3 separate regions of the Homo sapiens genome follow, and all the other regions are linked to region 1. The links are contacts of gene promoters, found by promoter capture Hi-C in human tissues and cell types (Jung and others, 2019). All regions are on one chromosome and are shown on one strand. The core of a region is centred on a gene start or on the middle of the fragment in contact, and the rest is flanking DNA. Distances in the headings are between cores, read along the strand shown. Region 1 overlaps IFITM10 (interferon induced transmembrane protein 10). Region 2 holds the start of MRPL23 (mitochondrial ribosomal protein L23). Region 3 holds the start of TNNT3 (troponin T3, fast skeletal type).

Evidence for each region. Contacts are between HindIII fragments. The study calls those that stand out against the background at their distance.
Region 2: a contact is called between the fragment with the promoter of MRPL23 here and a fragment that was not itself captured in region 1, in 2 of the 25 tissues and cell types used here (lymphoblastoid cells and spleen).
Region 3: the fragment with the promoter of TNNT3 here is called in contact with a fragment that was not itself captured in region 1 in 4 of the 25 tissues and cell types used here (IMR-90 fibroblasts, dorsolateral prefrontal cortex, lymphoblastoid cells and 1 more).

Annotation. Positions count from the first base shown.
Region 1 is chr11:1,742,819-1,745,811 of GRCh38, forward strand. The region is part of intron 2 of IFITM10 (interferon induced transmembrane protein 10); the gene reads right to left. Among named protein-coding and RNA genes, the nearest start is that of IFITM10, 6.3 kb to the right of the region's middle. RefSeq lists an enhancer at 783-1,141. The HindIII fragment of the contact is 8,903 bases long and covers 1-2,993 here.
Region 2 is chr11:1,945,933-1,948,925 of GRCh38, forward strand. MRPL23 (mitochondrial ribosomal protein L23) reads left to right here and starts at 1,400. Exons shown (of 5, transcript NM_021134.4): 1 at 1,400-1,447. The coding sequence starts at 1,431. The HindIII fragment of the contact is 45,453 bases long and covers 1-2,993 here.
Region 3 is chr11:1,918,154-1,921,146 of GRCh38, forward strand. It overlaps TNNT3 (troponin T3, fast skeletal type), which reads left to right and starts at 1,550. Exons shown (of 16, transcript NM_006757.4): 1 at 1,550-1,609. The HindIII fragment of the contact is 33,765 bases long and covers 1-2,993 here.

The sequences.
Region 1 (2,993 bases), core at 126-2,625:
GAAGGAAATGTGGGAGGATGGATTGAATATAAGTTTGGGTGGATGGACGGAGGGAGGATGAACAGATGATGGATGGATGGATGGACAGATGGAGGATGGATAGATGGATGGAGGATGGATGGATAGATGGATGGAGGATGGACAGATGGAGGATGGATGGATGGATGGACATATGGATGGATGAAAGATAAATGGATGGATGGATTGAGGGTGGATGGATGGATGGATGAAGGATGGATGGAGGGCGGATGGATGGATGGATGGAGGATGGATGGAGGATGGATGGATAGATGGATGGAGGATGAATAGATGGATGGATATGGATGGATGGACAGATGGAGGATGGATGGATGGACAGATGAAGAATGGACAAATGGAAGATGGATGGATGGACAGATGAAGAATGGACAAATGGAAGATGGATGGATGGAGGATGAATAGATGAATGGATATGGATGGATGGACAGATGGAGGATGGATGGATGGACAGATGAAGAATGGACAAACGGAAGATGGATGGATGGATGGATGGATGGAGGATGGACAGATGGAGGATGGATGGATGAATGGATGGAAGATGGATAGACGGATGGATGGAGGGTGGATGGATAGATGAAGGACAGATGGAGGATGGCTGAATGGAGGATGGATGGATGGATGCATATGGATGGATGGACAGATGGAGAATGGATGGATGGAAGATGGATGAATGATAGATGGATGGAGGATGGGAAAGATAAATGTGTGATGCTGATATTCAGAAAGGAGTGAGTGGGTGAGTGTGTACATCCAAAACCCAACGCAGAACCCACCCACCTAACCTGTTCTTTCTGACCGCCCTGTCACTGGAAGGTCTCACAGCCTCCTGGGCTCACATCTAGCAGCTGCTGTGTCCTAGCCACACCTGTTCCTCCTCTCCCACCCCCATCCCCAGCTCGCAAGCTCTCCCACCTGGACCACCACACTGGGACTTGAACCTTCTGCCTCGAGGCTTGTCTTGTCTCCTTCCCCTACACTGGTTGCAGATTTCATGGCCCTGATCATATCCTTCTCTTTCCATGGCTCCTACAGATGAGAGCCCAGCCCCTCACGAGGTTTTCAAACCCGTTCACCGCACTGCCTCAGGCACTCTTCCAGGAATGTCTTCCATCTCCCATTGAGGACAGGGGCCTTGCCGACCCCCTAGACTGCCCCACCTACGTGTCTTAGTTTATGCCATTTTCCCCGCCTGAAACACCTTTCCCCTCACCAAGCTTCAAGGCCCAGTGAAATTGCTGCCTCCTTCTAGAAGTTTTCCAGCCTCACCCCAAACTGGGAATGAAGTATTCCTTTTCTGAAACACTGTGGTGCTTCTTCCGTCTCACCATGTGTCCTCTGTCCACCCACCCATTAGACCCACATGTCCTGACCCATCTGTTGGCCAGCTCTGCCTTGGGCACAGATTGGCTGGGGTGAGCAGATGTGGCTGGGGCAGGACTGTCTCTGGAGGCTTTGCAGAAGAGAGACCCAGATCTCACAAAAGCTCTCCAGGCCGAGGATGTGCACATCGCTCACATCACATTTGCCGAGTGACCGGGGCGGGGAACCGCTGAGGCCAGAAGGGTTAAAAAGGCAGCTTGGATGCTGAGATGAGACGTTTGGCCATCATCCAGCTGACCGCGGGAGCCAGTGGTCATCAGGAGACAGTGTGTGGAGGCGGCATGAATGGAGAATTGACTTTTTGTATCTCTGCCTTCCCCGGACACCAGGCTGTGCAAAATAAGGCTTCAATCTCTGCGCTGCAGATCCAGCCTGCGTTGAGCCGAATTGGCCCATGTGGGTGGGGGGGGTGGATGGATGGCTGGACGGGTGGATGGACACGTGGGGGCAGGCAAGGACACACTGTCTAGTTCATACCACTGCATGCGGGCCTCCGCCCTGCTCACGTGTGCTGGCTTGAATGTTGTTTTGTTTCTATTTGTTTTGTGAACAGATGAGGGAACAGGGGCTCAGTGAGGCAAGATGGCTTGTCTGTCCCAAGAGCTCGGATTTTAGCCAAGACCTTCTGAACCTAGGGCCACCCCGCGTCCTTGGTGTAGGGTGCAGGTCAGGAGACCTGCAGCTGGGTGACCAGATGGATGCATTCCCAGGCGTGGGGTCCACAGCCAGCCAGTTCCGTCCTCCCTTCTGCCCAGGATGGAGACAGGTCACCTTGCACCCACTCCCAGGTATGCCCCAAAGCCTCTCTGCCCTGGCTGCCCCCGCCCACCGCAGGAAGGACACAGGAGGAGCAGGCTTGGGAGGAGGTGTAATGAGCCGTCCCTGACCCTCAGAAGGGTCAACCTCACACCACCCCCAACCCCTGCAGAAACCCGGCACCATCCAGAAATCCCTGACCTACCTACAACCCGAGCCAGATGGGCCTGCCCCATGCCAGCCGGCCAGCCACAGCCTGAGCCAAGCGGGAGGAGGGACAGCTTCCGGACGGGAGCCCAGGCAGCCAGACCCATGTCCGCAGGCTGTTGGCAGGGCACAGAGAGAGGGGAGGCAGAGCTCCACCAGCTGCAGCTTCAGCCCCCCAACACTGGAGCTTTCTGCTCAGGATTGGTCTGGGGAGCCACAGCTGGAGCTGGTCGGAAGCATGACCTCCAATTCCAGGGGCCCTTTTCCTTTGTTGCTTCTACACACACACACACACGCAGGAATACTCACCACCACACACACATGCTCTCACACACTTGTGCACACACATTTACACGTACCATGCACACTCACGTATGATTACACACGCATGCACAGTCAGGTACATACATCACACATGCACACACTCACACACACTTGTGCACACACATTTACATGAACCACACACGTGTGATTACACACATGCACATGCAGGTACAGACAACACACAGGCACACACCCTCACACACTTGTGTACACACATTTACACGTGCCATGCACACTCGTGCGATTACACACACATGCACACACTCAGGTACATACACACAGCACAC
Region 2 (2,993 bases), core at 150-2,649, 200 kb after region 1:
CTCACGCAGGCCTGGACAACAGTGGGGACGGCTGCCACCACCTTCCCTGCCCACTCTGGCCCACTTCTCACTCCATCCTGCTTCAATGCCTTCATGCTAGATAGACCCCCTGGAGTCATTTCCACTCAAACCCACCCATCAGGAGGAACTCCAGCCCTACCCGGCCCAGGCCCTCGGAGGGGCACAGTGCCCTCTCCTCCTCCTGAATTTCCATCAACCCCAGTGCCCTCCCGCAGCCCTGTTCCCACCTGCAGGCCTGGGCCCCCTGCCCCCAGCAACAACCAGGACCCATGGCCCCGCTTCTTGCTCTGAAGCATGACACCCCTGCCTCTTGCTCTGAAGAACACTTAGGGTGCTGTTGGGTGCGGGAACAAGCCAGGCTTGGGGGTGGGGGGCACGGGCAGTTAAAGAGATAGATGGAGAAGTGGCCTGAATCCAGCCACCAGGCAGAGGAAACCAGGGGAGGAGGGAGAGGCCTGGGGACAGGGGAGGGAGGCTGCTGCCCTCTACTCCCGAAGGGTCCCAGCAGCCCTCCTGGCCAGCACTACCCAAGGAAAGGAGTGAGGACTGGGCCTTGGACGGGGGTCCCTGTAGAGAGGGCCTTGCCAGAGGCTGGAGGGGGCTGGCCAGAAGGGTGGAGAGGGGGTGAGCAAACGGCAAGGCCTGAAGAGGCCAGTGGCCCTCTTGGAGGAGGCGTGGTGGGAGCACCGAGGATGGACAGCGTGGCTGGTGTGGCCAGCGTGGGGGCTGCCAACCGGGCTGGCCAGAAGGGCGAGGTGAGGGGCCCTGGGGTTCCGGGCTCCCGGGTAAAAACAGCCAGATGGAGAGAGGGGCTTCAGACCCCAGGCCCGGGGACCCGCCCTCCCCAGCACTACAGCCCCGGTTCTCCACTTCCAGCTCCCAGCAGCTGCAAGCGCAGCGGTGCGGGGCCAGGCTGTGGCCTGGAGCTGCCAAAGGGCAGGGGCACGGGTGTGGGGGGCGTGCAGGCCGGGGTCCCGGGAGGCAGGGCAGACAGGCCCGAAAGAGTGCGACGGCGGCGGGAGGTCTCTGGGGCTGGGAGGGGTGCGGGCGTGGGCGGGGCGCGAGCAGCAGGGGCGCGGGCCCGGGCTTCAGGCTGTGGGGCCGGGAGTGCGGGGCGGGACTGCTGCGGCCCCGCGTCCTGTGGAGTCTGCGGCGCGGGGAGTGGGGGTCGGGGCGGGGAGGAACGTGGGGTGCGGGACAGGAGGGGGGCAGGGAGGGAGAAGAAGGCGGCGCGGGGCGGGGCGGGCGCAGGGCTGGGGACGGCACGGGCGCGCGGCACGGGCGCTGGCGCGTGCGGGGGGGGCGGCGCGGCCTCCGGAAGCGAGGGGGCGCTGTGCCAGGCGGCGGCCGTGCGGGGCGGGCGCGCTGCTCCTTCCGCCTCGCGGACCCCGGAAGCGCGCGTGGCCGCCATGGCGCGGAATGTGGTGTGAGTAGGGGTCGTCACCCCCCCGTCGCGGGGCGCCCCTTAGTGTCACAAGCAGACGGACCCCACAGGGCGCGCGGACTCCGGGGAGCGGGGTGGGCGTCCCTGGGCCGCCTCCTGGCCCGGGCGAGGCAGGGTTCTCCGGGACCCCCTGTCATGCCTTGAGACACGCGAGGCGGGTGGCGGAGGAGCCCCCCGCCAGGTTTAGGGCAACCCCAGGGGGCGGGCGTGGCCGGGCTGGGGACAGAGGGTCCGAGCCAAACCCATGGAGGCCACGGTGCCCCCGCGTGGGGAGTGGGAGGGTGGCCCGGGGTCAGGCCCGGGGCTGGTCCCGCAGCCAGGGCCGAGGGAGCTGTTTGGAGACGTTTCTGATCGTCACGGGGCGGGGGCCACGTCGGCTGTTGGGTCCAGGCGGGGAGGCCCGGGCGGCCCCCACCGCAGCGCGGGCGCGGCCTGAGGCAGAGGAGCTGGGAATCCAGATTGGGTTTGAGTGGGAAAGGGCAGCTGACCGCAGCCCTCAGGGCTTTGGGGCAGGCAGGGCGGGAGGCCCGGTTCTGCTCAGCCCAGACCCCCCACGCCCACTCTGCATGTTCTCTGGATTCCCAGGGGGCCATCGGGGCGCTGTCCTGCACCACTTCGCCCTCCCCAAATTGAAGCAGGAAGCCCTGCATATTTCTTGGTGAACGAATGACTCAGGCGTAATCAGTAGATGTGGGCTCCCGGGTGGGTTTTGGAGAACAGTAATCAGTGTTTCTGGAGAGGGACGGTCAAGGGGCCAGGGTGTGGCTTTGGAGGCCCCTGCACATAGCTGGGGAGAGAGGGGAGGGTGGCAGGTGGGACCCCCAGTGGAGGAGGCTTCCTTCAGCAGACACCTGGGACCGGTGCTGCGCGTGGCCCTGACCTTGGGGAACACCCAGCACCAAGGAAGAAAAGGTCTGAGTGAGGCCAACACTGCCCTGAGCCTCACGTGAATTCCACGCTGGCCCTTCGCCTGTCCCTGGAGAATGAGGAGGAAGTGAGGGTCAGAGGACCCGGGTGGGGTGTTCCTGAAGGGCCAAGGGTGGTGGGCCCCTGGAAACGGATCAGGTGTGGTTGCCTTGGAGGCAGCGGGGCCCGCTCGCCCAGCAGTGCACACACTCCTGTTGCCAGGGAGCCTTTGCAGGGAGCGCTGACTGGACTTGCTGTGGACTGGATGCAGCTGGGGTGGGGGTGCCGAGAGGGTGGGATCCTGGGTGAGTCACTCGTGGGGCCGTGGGGAGGCAGGCTGGTGGCAGTGAGCCAGGTTTTTGTGTTTTGAGGAAGAAGTTAGTGCAGAGTTCTACTTGAGATAGGTTACCGTGGAGGTGCTTGTGAAATCCCATGCGGAGTGCTTGGGGTGCTCCCTGGGGAGAGTGGGACTGAGGGAACTGAGGGCTGGTGGGCCCACAAGGGTTCGAGAACAAAAGAGAGGCCTTAGAGCCCTGTCCTGGGGCCCTGGGTGTCGACAGTGCAGATTGTTCCAGATCTGCAGGCTCCATGCACAGGCAGCTGGCGCTCCAGCCTGGAGAGG
Region 3 (2,993 bases), core at 300-2,799, 180 kb after region 1:
GGCCCCCAAAGCCTTGCCCATCGAGGACATGGACAGGGAGGGGAAGGCGTGGAATGCAGACGAAGCCACAGACCCAGAGCAGGAGGACGGCGACGTTCCCAGCAACCCCAGCTCCAAGAGCCTTCCCAGTGCCGGGCACTCAGCGGGAGGCAGGCAGGGGACCGGCCCTGTCCTTTGAAATGGCAGCCTGGGGCCAGCCCGCCTTGTCGTGTGACCCCAGGCACACCTTGCCTGTCCCTGGGCTCTGCGGCCTCGCTCTTCCATGGAGGGGTGGAATGAGGTGCCAACCACAGCCTTCCGGAAGGCCCCCGACCCGGCCCCAGGGCACTGTGAGCCCCTGCCGGGTTATCCTGTTGTCCCTGACTCTAAGCCTGGGGAGGACAGGGACCTCATCTGTGCCTCTCGGGACTCACCCCTGTCCTGGGCGCTGGCCAAGAAGGAACCAATCTGTGCCTGAACCGAAGAGTTCCGCAGACACCACCGCCCACGCTCAGCCTGTGGGGTCTGAGGGGAGTGAGGGGGTGGGTCAGGGTGCCAGACTGCTCTCCCCCACCTGGTGCCTCAGTTTCCCTGATCCAAGAGGCAGGGTTATCCAATCTGGTGGCCTCACTGGCCAGCATACAGGCCATCAGAGGCCAGGAAGGATGTCTGCTAGTCGGACGGTGCCACCTGGAGTCCTGAGGAAAGAAAACCAGTCTCCACACGCCACAATGAGCCTGTGGGAGATGCTGGCACAGATGGTAACGGCCACTGCGAGTGCCCAGGGTGGGGCCCCAGGGTTAGAAAGGGCCTAGAGGGAGGACCCAGACCCTTACCCAGCAAACTCCATGTGTAGCCCCCTGCAATGGCAGCAGCCCCGGGGGGAGGTATGGCAGACTCGGACTGCAGCCAGCCTGGCCATGTCCCTCGCCCGCTTATTGTGTAGGCCCCAACGGTGTCTAGCCAGGAAAGCAGAGCTGGCCTCTAAGAGGGTCTCAGATAGGGTGGGGGCCTGGCCTCAGTTCCATGGGGGGTCTCCGAGGCCTCAGGCTGCTTCCTCCCCGGGGGAGACAGCGAAGGGCCTGGGGCATTGGGCCGGGCGGCGGGAGGGGACCCCGGCTGTGCGGACCCTTTTCCTGGACAAATGTTTACTCCCACAGAACATCTCAGAGAGAAGGGGCGGGGGGGTGGGAAACCCGGCAGCCTGGCTCTGGGGACCCCCACACTAGTTTGGCCCAAAGAGAGCCTCGGCTTGGTGCCCCGGGGCCACCCAACACCTTCCTCCTCCCTCCTCAGCCCATCCAGAATGTACCCGCTGCTGGGAGTAAAAATAGCAGCTGACACCTCCTGGAGGCGGAGGGAGGACCTTGCCTCCTTCTCCAAGCACGTCCTCTGCATCCTGGCCTCCTTCAGCCTCCTCCTCTGGCCATTCCTATACTTGGTAAGGGGCCTGCACGGGCATAGCCCCCCCCAGCAAGACTCCGCACACACCCCGGCCACCCAGTCACTGGCCAATGGGCTCCTAGGAAGATCAAATGTCACTATAACACGAGGGTGTGAGCCGGGCGCCAGTGCCTGCAGCCGGTGCTGTCCACAGGGAGCTCCAGCCCTTCTCACACTCGACCCGCAGGTGGGTATAGGCAGGAGCGGCCACCCAGGACTGGGGCCGACGGGGCCTCCTGCGTGCGGGTGGACAGCCCCTCGTTCCAGGGACACTCTGGGGTCCTGGGGCGCTGAGGTCCCAGGTCCGTGTGGTGCCGAGCATCTCGAAGCATCATGGCTCGGAGCCCCCAGGTGGCTGCTCCAGCGTCCGGAGAGTCTGGGATGCGGACATGGTGGTGTGATGGTCTCAGCACCGGGAGGATGCAGAAGAAGGCAGAGTGTGGGAGGCCAGGAGGGGGCAAGTCGGGGCTCAGGGAAGCTCAGTGCTAGGGAGTGGCCTGAGGGCAGGAGGCAGAGAGGTGCGGGCTGTGAGCGGCAGGGAAGAGGCTGTGCAGGGGTGCTGCCAGGGCTTAGGTTGCCAGCTTGTGGTCGCCATGCAGACATTTGCCCAGGCCCGTCCTGGCCTTGCCATGCAGCTCTCGCACCTGGGCCTCCAACACCGCCATTTTGTAGAGATGAAAACGAGGACAGGAGGGCAGGGGCTCCTGTATGGCCAGCCCGAGTGTGTTGGGGTGGGGGCGTCTAAAGCCCACGCAGCCTTGGGGGCCAGCGTCTGGAGGTGCAGGACAGAAGTGGACAGGGGCTGGACTGGGGCAGGACGGGGCAAGAGTGAGGGGCTGGGCTTCATCGCGTCCCCCTGGCTGGAGGCTGGAGAAGCTGGCGCTCGTAAGAGCCCCCACCCACCCTCCCTGCCCTGGACACGGTCCCCCTGACTTGTGCCGTCTGATCAGGCCTTGGCTGCCCCTCCTGAAGTCCACGGAGGGACATGGGGCAAAGCAAAGGTTGGCTGGGTGGAGAACAGGTCTGGGGGCATGGTCAGGGCCACAGCAAGCAAGGGGCAGCGGCTTTTGCCTCCCCACCCTGCCCTGGCCCCGTCACCTCCCAAGGAGGGAAAGGTGATGCATACGTGCCCGAAGAAACTGACCGCATAGGTTATTTTCACGCAGCCCCTCCAAGGCAGGCACTAACTGGACACCTGCTTTGCGTCTCAGCTGTTGAAATGCCATCCCCTGCCCCCAGCACACCCCTGCCCCCAGCACACCCCTGCCACCAGCCCCTCCCCGCAACAGAGGCAATGACACAGGCCATACTGGGGGGAACAGAACAGCCTTGTGTTGCTTCCAGGCGCTCAGCAGAAAACCAGGTGCCTCAGTTTCCCCACTTGGAGAGTGGGCCTTTCCAGCGCACGTCGGGGGGCCTGGAGGTCACCCTGCCTGAGGGTGTTGGGGCACCCATGTGACTCTGGCCTGGGGGGACAGGAGGGAAATATGAGGAGCTGGGGAGGGCCTGGGTGCCCGAGGGTGAGGGGGCAGCTGTGGGCCAAGGAGGGCTGGGCTGTCACACCCGCCTCA